2 separate regions of the Homo sapiens genome follow, and region 1 is linked to region 2. Evidence: promoter capture Hi-C in human tissues and cell types (Jung and others, 2019). All regions are on one chromosome and are shown on one strand. Each heading gives the region's core, a stretch centred on a gene start or on the middle of the fragment in contact. The rest is flanking DNA. Distances are from core to core; before and after follow the strand shown. Region 1 overlaps FBXW8 (F-box and WD repeat domain containing 8). Region 2 holds the start of TESC (tescalcin).

Region 1 (5,625 bases), core at 771-3,270, 180 kb after region 2:
TTAAGGAAAAGTATCTGTTTGATAACATACAACCTTGCTTTTAATTCTTTGACAATGTCTCAGATATCGATTCTCTACCACTATTGGGGACTTTCGTCCTGTATTACACATTAAAATCACCTGTGGAATTTAAAAAAAAAAATGCCAAGGGCCCTACCAAGACCTACTGCCCTGAATTTCCAGGGTTAGGGCTCAAGCACCTCCTTTTCTTTTGAGACAGAGTCTCGCTCTGTCGCCCAGTCTGGAGTGCAGTGGCACGATCCTGGCTCAATGAAACCTCTGCCTCCCAGGTTCAAGCGATTCTCATGCCTCAGCCTCCCAAGTAGCTGAGATTACAGGCACACATCACCACATCTAGCTAATTTTTGTATTTTTTAGTAGAGACAGGGTTTTGTCATGTTGGCCAGGCTAGTCTCGAACTCTCGGCCTCCACCTGCCTTGGCCTCTCAGAGTGCTGGGATTACAGGCATGAGCCACTGCACCCGGCCTCAAGCACCTCTTTCTCAGGCGATCCTCATGCACACTAAAAGTTGAGAACACAACCATACATCATAGGCAGATATAAAAATCTATCCATCCCCTTTTTCCTAGTCAAGGGAAAAAAAACACACACACACACACTCAAAGGGGTCATATTACTTATTTAATTTAAAGTCAGTGAATACTAGATTTTCCCAAAGTCTACTGGACTTACTCCAAAAACACTGAGAGAAATTGCAAAGAGATCCATCCCCAGGGAGGCTGATTTGTATTCCTATGTGCTAATGTAAGACTAATTCTGTAAATGGATTGGTTTTGTGCCTTACTGTTAGAAATTTAATCTGTCTTCTCTTGTTTAATAGAAGAACAGATAATTACTAAGAGCCAAAGCAGTAAAAAGTGAAGAAACTGACTTAAGGTTTTTGTTCCCAATGTACATCTCCAGGGCAAAGAGGACATGAAAGATCTCTCTGGGTGGTGGTTTAAGAAACTGAGAAAAGCACCTTGAGTTCAAAGAAGAGATTTGCAATAACATTTTTACTAAATCTATGACTGAAACTAGTTTCTTTAGGCGTTTATCTCAACTTTCCATGTACTGCAAAAGCTGAGTGGAGTAGACCCACACAATCTCAATCAGAAGAAATAGATGAGTTTCAGTTTCACCTGTGTCTTCTTTGAGAAGAAAAAAACTGGTTGGCTGGGGGAAAAAGGTCTGAAAGGCAGTCGAGATAAATAAGCATCCATTTATAATCCACAATTTGTCTCGAAATATATATTCTTATATACAAAAAGAAAAAAAGTCAGAAATAGGCCAGGCACAGTGGCTCATATCTGTAATCCCAACACTTTGGGTGATTGAGATAGACAGATCATTAGGGGCCAGGAGTTCAAGACCAGCCCAGGTAACATAGTGAGACACTGTCTCTAGACAAAATAAAAATAAATGAGCCAGGTGTGGTGGCATGCACCTGTAGTTCCAGCTACTTAGGAGGCTGAGGTGGGAGGATAGCTTGAGTATGGGAGGTCAAGGCTACAGAGCCATGATCACACCACTGCACTCCAGCCTAGGCAAAAGCGAGAGAGAGCCTGTCTAAAAAAAAAAAAAAAAAAAAAAAAGTCAGAAATACACCAAAATGTTAACAATGGTAGCCTCTAAGCAATTATATTACTAAAGACTTTTATTTTCTTCTATTCTTCTGAATTTCCTAAATATTTCTACAGTGAGCACATGATATTTTCACAGACACAGAAAAGCAACACATTTTTAAAGTAAGGTAACTTATGTTCAAAATACTATCTAAATTCAGGGCCACACCAGGTGCTAGGGGGAGGGAGGTGCTGTTAGCAAGTATATAAGAAATGGTCTACACTCAAAGAGCTAAAATCTTTTATAGAGGTAAGTCATTGTCACGTAAAATGAAATACAGGAGACTACAACAGGCAATATAGATCGTCCCCTAAGGTACTCCAAAGTTCATTAGTAAGCCAGCCATATAGAAGCTGGAAAACATTTCTCCAAACAAACAATGCTACAAAGAGCGGCTAAGCTCCCAAGCAGTCCACAAAAAAACAATTCGTCTCTTAACATTTAACCTAATCCCCATGCCTAGCTATGAGGAAGAGCAAAAGGTATTCAATAAATGTTTGTTGATCACATGTGCGGGTGATATAAGTGAACTATAATACTATAGAATCTAACCAGCTCAGTGCATTGCACACAGTAGATGCACAATAAATGTCCATGGAATTTGATTTATCCTTTTTTTACGAGAATAGGCTTTCCAGCTTCAAGACATATTCTCACTCTCCTGGGGACTCTGGCAAGGAAAGAAGGTAGAAGATGCCAATCTAAAGAAATGCAAGTGCTGGGGGAAATCCCAGGAGGCTGGGTGTGGTGGTGAAGGAGGGTGGTGTGAAGCAAAATGGGCTGGGCCTCTGCTTTGAGCCCCCTTTTAGTCTAAACTGGGATCTGAGCTTTAGGACATGGCGAGGAGAGAAGACAGGAAGAGGAGAAGCTTCAGGTCCCAGAGGGGTACCACAGTGGGTGTGGTTTTTGAAACCACAGTGGGTTTGTGAAAAGAGTAAAGATGTTCACATTAAGGGTCCCAAACACTGCAGGCACATTCCCACCATCAGGATTGGCTATAGAATTTGGGGGGCCTGTTGGTCACAAATGATTAAGATCATTACAAATGATCAAGGCAACAGAGCATTAAACTAAGTGCGGGTCCTGGTCACCACAGAACCTTTGCACTTGCCCGTCTTGGCCTAGAATCCCCTCCCCCAGATCTCTGTATGTTCACTCCTCACCTCCTTTAGGTTCTCCATGAAATGTGACCTTCCCAGAAAGACCCTGTTGGACAGCACTATTTAAAATTACAGCCCCTCCCCTGGCAGATACACTCTATCCTGTCTGCTTATTTCTTCTCCAGAACATTTATTTATTACCTGACAATTATTTGTCCATTGTCTAACTCCCTCTTCCCCAGAATGTAAGTTACACAAGGGCACAGGCTTTTTTCTGCCTTGTTCAATGCTATATTCTCAGTGCCTGGAACAGTGGCTGGTACCAAGAAGACACTTAATAAATATTTGTGGGATATGAATGAAACCCAAGCTGCTTCAAGCAGCAGACCGTTCCAACAAAGACCGCATGTAAGTCACAAGTTGTTCTAGTATACACAGGCATCATTTCAAAAGGTTCGTAAGTGGAGGCCTGCTAATTCACGAATAACATGAAAAAATGAACAGCACTGAGGATAAGAACTTTTTAGTTGGGGGAAAGGGAGAAATTTGGGCTGGAGAAATCACGGAAGAATTAACACAGGAGACAGAACTCAAGCTGAGCTTTAAAAGGCAGGCAAAGAACAGGAAAGAGGAAAGGAAGTTATTCCAGTTAAGTCAATTCATGAGTACACATTTGGTTTGGTTTGCTGTCTCACTGCATATTAGCCAGAAGAAAAGTGTTCACATTAGGGAGCTTACTTATTTGTGTTTAACTTAAAAACAGAAGAAGGTTAAGCCATTAAATCTATCTTGTTGGCAACACAGATGCAGGATCTGACAGGTTAAATATTGACATGGTGAGTGATAAATATTGGCCAGCAGTATTAAAACTTTCAGCAGACCTAAAACTCCATATCTTAACCTGGAAGGATGCTTTGAATGTTCAAGGGTTCTAACAATCATAGAGCCTTTATAAAGTCGCAGTCAGAAGCAGCAATTTTGCCCACATTATTTCAACTCAACAAACATAGATAGGGCCCCTACTGTACTAGTAAGGCAGGTGGAGTTAGAACAGTAAGGCAACAGATCCTGCCCTCCAGGGATTCACAAGAGGCGGAAGCTAAGGGCTTATCGGTGATAAGCTTCAGTAAAGAGGAAGTAAAATAGCATAGCAAACTCTGAGTACTAACGATAATGGCACCAGCTTACATTTATTGGGCCCTTACTGTACTCCAGGCTCAGTGCTAAGTTCCATGCCTATTTCATTGCCTCTTCACGAGATAGGTACTAACATCATCATCATTTGACAGCTAAGGCAGGGGAAATTAACTTGCCCAAGGCAAACTGGTAACAGCAGAGCCAGAATCTGAACTCAGGTCTGCTTGACTGCAGAGCCCAGCCCCATAGCCAAGACTGTCCTGACTCCATTAATGTCATTCTTTTAGTTAAAAGAAACAAGACTTTAGGCTCTCTGAGGACAAGGAGCCATTCTGTTTACTGCTGATTCCCCAGCACTGAGCTGATCAATGAATATATGTTGGATGAACAGAAAACACAGTCGTCCCCCCTTATCCGCGGTTTTGCTTTCCATAGCATCAGTTACTTACAGTACAGTATTATGAGAGCCCACATTCATATAACATTATAGTATACTGTTGTAATTGTTCTATTTTGTTGTTGCTGTTAATCTCTTACTGTGCCTTGTTTATAAACTTTATCATTGCTCTGTGTATATAGGAAAAAAAAACATGGCATATACAGGGTTCAGTACTATCTGCATTTTCAAGCACCCACCGGGGGTCTTGAAATGTATCTCCAGTGGATAAGGTGGGACTACTGTATTCTCAGTTAGTGCTGCGTCACACACCCACCTAAAATGGATATCAGTTATTGCTCTTTTTTCCTGCCCAACATCCACTTCCTCTATTTAGGAAACCATCCCACTCCCACTCTTAGTCAACACAATTTAGGCAGAGCTGACCTCACCTTCATCTTCAGGAATGGGCAATGGATTCGAGTCTGAACAATTTGAATCAGTGATTGGCTGAAAGGTGGACACATGACCCAGTTTGCAGCAATGGGAATTTAGGTTCATGACTTGCAGCTCTCTTTCCCTTGAGTTGCTAAGCAGATAGAAGACTAGAGTTGCTGGTAGCCATTTTTCCCCAAGAGGAAAGCCTGTCTGTGAATAAAGTCAACAAAAGGAAAGCAGGATTAAGAGAAGGCAAATCCTACTTACCTTAGGTAAGCACCCAGAACAAACATTACCACCTGGAATTTTCAGTTACAGGAATCAATAGATTCCAGTTTGGGTTTTTAAGCCAGTTTGGGTTGGGTGCTTGTTGCCTGCAGCCCAGAGTCCTGATACACCACCTAAATAAAAATGGAGCCCAAGCAAGTTGGTATCACAGCCACTCCACTGAAGAAAGCAGCACACTTGCAATTATACTCAGGTATATCCACTATCTCCAAGAAGCCTGGGTTTATGAACAGAGGAGAAGAGAAGACAACAGAGAAAGTGCCTACTGCCTCTGAAATTCTGACCAGGGATGTGTTCTTTCACTAGTTTACTTATACTAAGAACTCTATCAGGTGCCAACTGAGGTATTCCCAACTCATCACCTAAAAAGAGATGGCTGCTAAGTGCTATTACTAAAAGCTTCATAAAACATGAGGCTTGGGAGGAGTCCTGCGTTGTTTTTTTTTTGTTTTTTTTTTTTTGAGGTGGAGTCTTGCTCTGTCACCCAGGCTGGAGTGCAGTGGCGCAATCTCGGCTCACTGCAACCTCTGCTTCCCGGGTTCAAGCAATTCTTCTGCCTCAGCCTCCCCAGTAGCTGGGACTACAGGCACGTGCCACCACACCCGGCTAATTATTGTATTTTTTAGTAGAGACAGGGTTTCACCGTCTTAGCCAGGATG
Region 2 (5,256 bases), core at 1-2,500:
ATCGAGACTAACGTTCAGAACAGACCTGATACCTGACGGTCATTGATGGTGGTGTCACTAAGCACTGCAGAGCCTTCAGGAGAGCCTTGACCTTGATGTTCTGCCCTGGCTGTGTGCCTCTCCAGGGGACAAGATTCCATAGCGCCCACCAGCCTCTGTGGCCATGTGCTGTGTCCACGCCAGGCCCTCTGGTGGACATCTCATTAACTTATCCTTATTTTAAGGAGGAGGAATCACATTACACAGGCAACAGCATCGGCCCCAGTCACCCCAACTGGATGGAGAGCCAACCCCTCAAGCCATCTTAACCCAGAACTTCCCTAATGGGCATGGGGACCACCGGCATTGCCTTCTCTCCAGCAGTTTGTCCCAAATGCAGCCTCCTGGGCCCACTTCTGCAGTTGTTTTTTTGTTTGTTTGTTTTTTGAGACAGAGTCTTGCTCTGTCGCCCAGGCTGGAGTGCAGTGGCAAGATCTCAGCTCACTGCAACCTCTGCCTCCCAGGTGCAAGTGATTCTCCTGCCTCAGCCTCCGGAGTAGCTGGGATTACAGGCATGTGCCACCGCGCCTGGCTAATTTTTGTGTTTTTAGTAGAGACGGGGTTTCACCATGTTGGCCAGGCTGGTCTCGAACTCATGAGCTCAAGTGATCCGCCCGCCTTGGCCTCCCAAAGTGCTGGGATTACAGGCGTGAGCCATGCGCCCAGCCCGCTCCTGCAGTTTGAGGTGCCTCTCAGCCACCGGGCTGTGCAGGGCCCACACGGGCCGCCACGTGGGTGTGTTCACCTCAGAAGGTGCTGGGGCTTTCCTGGAAAAAACCAAAGCGCATGGTGCATTTTCAAATAGGATTATTATTACTGTTGTTCTCCATAGAGCTATTTCATGCTCGCTGACTTCCTTGACTATCTCAGTGGAGTTTCCCTCCTAAGATCTGGAGGATGTAAGGTGGGATGGGTTGGGAGTGGGCATAGCACCTCCCAGGGGTCCCACCCCTCCTACCCACGCCCCCAAATTTGCTCACACCTGCTTCCTTCCAGATCCAGCAGGTGTGCGGAAGGGACGAGGTACGTGAGCACTGCTGCACGAACGGGGACTCCAGAGCGGTGGGCTCCGGGGTCCCCTTCCCGGCGGTTTCCGGGCCGGGGCGGGGCGGGGCGCTCCCCTAGCCGCGCAGTGCGCGAAACCGGCGTGCGCTAGGACCGCGGCGCGCCGCCCTCCGCCGTTATATGAGGCCCCGCTCCGGCCCCACGCGGAACCCGCGGCTCCGAGCCTTCGCCGGCGTCCCGACCCGAGGCCGGACCCGAGGCCAGTCCCGCCGCTGCGCAGCCGAAGCCAGTGCGGGGCCTGAGAGGGACGCGCGCCCCGGGGCCCCCGCCGCGGGCACCATGGGCGCTGCCCACTCCGCGTCTGAGGAGGTGCGGGAGCTCGAGGGCAAGACCGGCTGTGAGTACCCGCGGGGGGCGGCGCGGGGACCGGGGCGGGACCTCCGAACGGCCACTGTTGGGGACCCCGGCCCGCCGCCGCGCTGTGTGACCTTGGGCCAGTGGCGGGCCCTCTCTGCGCCTCAGTCTCCTCCTCTTTCAAATGGGTCCCCGCTGGCCACCTCGCGGGCTGCGGCGAGGAGCTCCGCGGCGATGCTCAGTGCCGCAGCCGCTCAGCTTCGGACTGGCCCGGGAACTCCCTGGCCGGGGGACTGCGGACCGGGGAGGGAGCGGGGCCCAGGCTTCCCAAGCGCAGGGCAGGTGCCTCAGGCCGGGCGGGCAAGTCCCTCAGGCACCCCCGCTGGCGCGCGCGCCCCACACCTGAGAGTCGTTTGCATTCGTGAGCGCGAGAGCGGAAAGTTTTGAAGTCGGCGGACCTGGGTGGGAACAGGTCTCCGACGCTCCCCGGCCGGGTGACCTTAGTCGGGAGAGCCGGCGCCCGGCGCCTGCTTTCGTCCTCGCATCTGTAAAATGGGTTCAGGCAGCCTCATCCCCGCGGGTGGCTGGGAGACTTAGCGAGGCAGCGGCCGCAGAGCACTTTGCCCGGAGCCCAGCGTCCTCCCCTGAGTTCGCTGAGTCTCCCGGGACCAGCAAAGGCTGCGCGCCCCGCATCGGCCCGGAGGCGGGGAGCCCTGGGAGGCCTGGCCGAGCTGCCCGCAGGGAAATGGCGGAGAAAGCGCTTCTCTGCCCGAGTTCAGCCGGGCTGGGGACTTGGCCCTGGGTCCTGAACTCGGCATGGCCAGTTCTGCCTCTGGCTGTGGACCAGGGTGTGGACTGGAGACCGCGGGGGCCAGGTGTGTGGGCAAACCGGCTTTGGCGAGCGACAGACCGGCTGTGAACCCTGCCAGCTGCACTTCCTGGCTGTGTGACCTTGGGCTAGTCACTTTACCTCTCTGATTCTCAGCTTTCCTTCTCTGTTGTAAGAGTTCTCCTAGTACCTGGTAGACGCTCAGGAAATGGGAGCTGCAGATATTTTGGGAAAGAGCTAGCTCCTGGCACCTGCTTCAAGTGCAGAGAACCAGCGTCCAGTATTGATCACCAAGAGAGGGTGGCCCAGCTGTTTGTGTGTCAGCTGAAAAGCAACCCCTCTTGACCCCCAATCTAAATACCCCTTTCCAGGAGAACTGGATGAAAATTGCAGAAAACCATTAATAACTGGTGTGTGTATGCACGCACTTATACGTCTATATCTGTATCTCTGTGTGTGTAGAGATATAGAAATATCCAACTAAAGAAGTAAAAGGTGTGGCTCAGCATATATAATATGGTACCCTTTTTTCTGTTTTTTAAAAAAGGATCCTTTGAGCTGGAGCCGCAAAGTAAAAAGAAATAGAAAATGTAAAAAGAGGGGAAAATAAGAGTATACATTTGTAATTGCTATATTTGCAGACTGGAAGAATCCACCAGAAAGTACGAATGGATGCTTGGTGGGGGTTGCGGGGGGAGTGGAAGGGATGAAGGGAGAGTGAGCTTTTTCTCCGTAAACGTTTTTATATGTTCATTTTGAACTATGTTGGATATTTTACTTACTCAAAAAGTTTTATGCACTTCAATCCGAAGACTAATATGAGAGAGAAAGGAGGGATTCCTCTAGCTCTTACTTGCTTGGGTCTCCTCTGCTTTTATTATTTCTCATGTGCCCTCTCCTCGCCTCCCACTGCTTTGAATCTGGATGGGTGTCGATGGGCATTCTCTGTGGCTGGGATCCCCGTTGGAAGGGTGGGCTCTCCGGCAGCCCACGGGGCACTCGGGAATTCCACCTGGTTGTGGGTTTGACAGGGAGGAGGGGCTGCAGAGCATGCTGGGAGTCTTGTCAGTTTCCTGGGTCCAGCCTCCCACTGGGATGACAGATGCTGTGTTCCTGCTCTGTAACCTTCCTAGATGTAGCTGCAGCGGCTTCCCTTCTTGCTGCCCAGAGCTCAGACTTCATAACCCAAGGGAGATGGAGAGGGTCGGAGAGGAGGTTCTGAGGTTAGACTAGAGTAGGCAGGTGGAACTTTAGGTAGGTGGAAAGTTGCCCCCAGTCCTCCGAAAGGGACTGCGTAATTCGGTCACTTTTGCCCACTTAGCAAATATTTATAGACCAGGGGCTGGGGATTTAGAGATGACTCGGAGAGGCTGCTGTTCCTGGAGGGGGACACACAGTAAACAAAACGCCCGACAGGTGTTAAACTGTGAACGAGGCATAGCAGGGTGGCATGAGAATGGAGCTTTAGGGTGGATCCGGAGGTCCTCCCTGAGGAGGTGATAATGGAACAGAAATCCAAGTAAGAATGAGCCAGGGGTGTGCAAATCAGTGGAAAGGGCATCTCGGGCCGAGGGGACGTCGAATGCAGAGGCCCTGTGGCAGGGACAAGCCAGCAACAGTAAATAAGAATGCATGAGATGAGGACACAGCTGTCGTCAGGGCTCAGGCTGTGGCAGGAGCCTGGCTTCAGGGGCCTTGCCAGGTACCTTGGGCAAGTCACTTATGCTCTCTGAGCCTCAGTTTTATCTACTATAAAATGGGCATAGTCATAGTACCTCCCTTGAAGTTGTTGGGAAGGATTGAGTTAATATACATGAAGTAGTTAGACCAAACACATGTACATGGTTTGTTATTGACCATGCTTTAAACACTCTTGTATGTCCTGGTCGCTCCGAGCCATAGCTGAGAGTTGAGTCTTGGTCCCACCTCTCTGAGCTACATGACCTTGGGCAAGTCATCTTACTTCTCTGAGCCTCAGTACCCCCACCTGGATCCTGAAGTCATTGTGTGGATTTGATAAGGTTACGTGCGAGACGATCGGCTTGGCATGGGAACGTCAGCTCCCAGAGACCCAGTGGGTCAGGCAGGGCCCTTCCTCCAAGGCCATTCCCTTGGGAATCTTCCCTGAGAAAAAGGGAGAAAAGCCTCAGGGTAAGGTGGCCAGAGGACAGACTGAGCCCACAGGGCTGCTGACTCCCCCGCCTCCCTGAGGACCAAGATGACCCCTGACTTTCTGGGGAGGAATCAGCTTGGTCCCTTTCTGAGAACACCATCCAGAAAGGACCAGAAGGTCAGGCTGAGGCTGGTGATAATGAACATAATTCCCCAAGCACCTGCTGAGCATCAGGCTCCACGCTGGTGCTCTCTGCATAACACTCTTTATAGTAATGATCCCCCAGGAAGGCAGTGTTAGGGCCATTTTACAGGTGAGGAAACTGAGGCTTAGAGAGGTAAACCAGCTTGCCTGCAGTCCCACAGCTGCTAAGTGGAGGAGTTGGAGATCATGGGATCCCCAAGCCTACTTTCTTTTTTTACAGTTTTTTTTAATTTTTAGTTTTTGAGGCAGGGTCTTGCTCTCTCACCCAGGCTGGAGTGCAAGGGGCATGATCAAGCTCACTGCAACCTCGAACTCCTGGGCTCCAGCGATCCTCCCACCTCAGCCTTCCCAGTAGCTATGACTGCAGGTGTGCGCCACCACACCAGCTAATTTTAAATTTTTCTGTAGAGACAGGGGTCTTGCCATGTTGATCAGACTAGTCTCAAATTCCTGGCCTCAAAGTGATCCTCCCACTTCAGCCTCTTGAAAGCGCTGGAGTTACAGGCATGAGCCACCATGCCTGGCCCCAAGACTGCTTTCTTACTGCCAGCATGCTTTCACTGTGTGTAGCTGCCACTTGAATTTCTAGGAACCAAGAAGGGATAGGAAAAGACTCCCGTATTTTTTCTCACCTTCAGGCCTTTGCACAAAAGCTGTTCCTCTGCCTGGAGCACTGTTTTCATTTGATGTGTACAATCAGGTGTTTACGTAC

What was found. Contacts are between HindIII fragments. The study calls those that stand out against the background at their distance.
Region 1: a contact is called between a fragment that was not itself captured here and the fragment with the promoter of TESC in region 2, in 1 of the 25 tissues and cell types used here (spleen).

The regions. Positions count from the first base shown.
Region 1 is chr12:116,917,794-116,923,418 of GRCh38, reverse strand. The region is part of intron 1 of FBXW8 (F-box and WD repeat domain containing 8); the gene reads right to left. Among named protein-coding and RNA genes, the nearest start is that of FBXW8, 9.7 kb to the right of the region's middle. The HindIII fragment of the contact is 5,174 bases long and covers 1-4,607 here.
Region 2 is chr12:117,095,410-117,100,665 of GRCh38, reverse strand. TESC (tescalcin) reads left to right here and starts at 1,250. Exons shown (of 8, transcript NM_017899.4): 1 at 1,250-1,441. The coding sequence starts at 1,384. It overlaps TESC-AS1 (TESC antisense RNA 1), which reads right to left and starts at 1,199. Exons shown (of 3, transcript NR_120464.1): 1 at 1,022-1,199; 2 at 26-213. RefSeq lists silencers at 34-251, 1,118-1,256, 995-1,514, 1,575-1,684, 1,755-1,854. The HindIII fragment of the contact is 11,228 bases long and covers 1-5,256 here.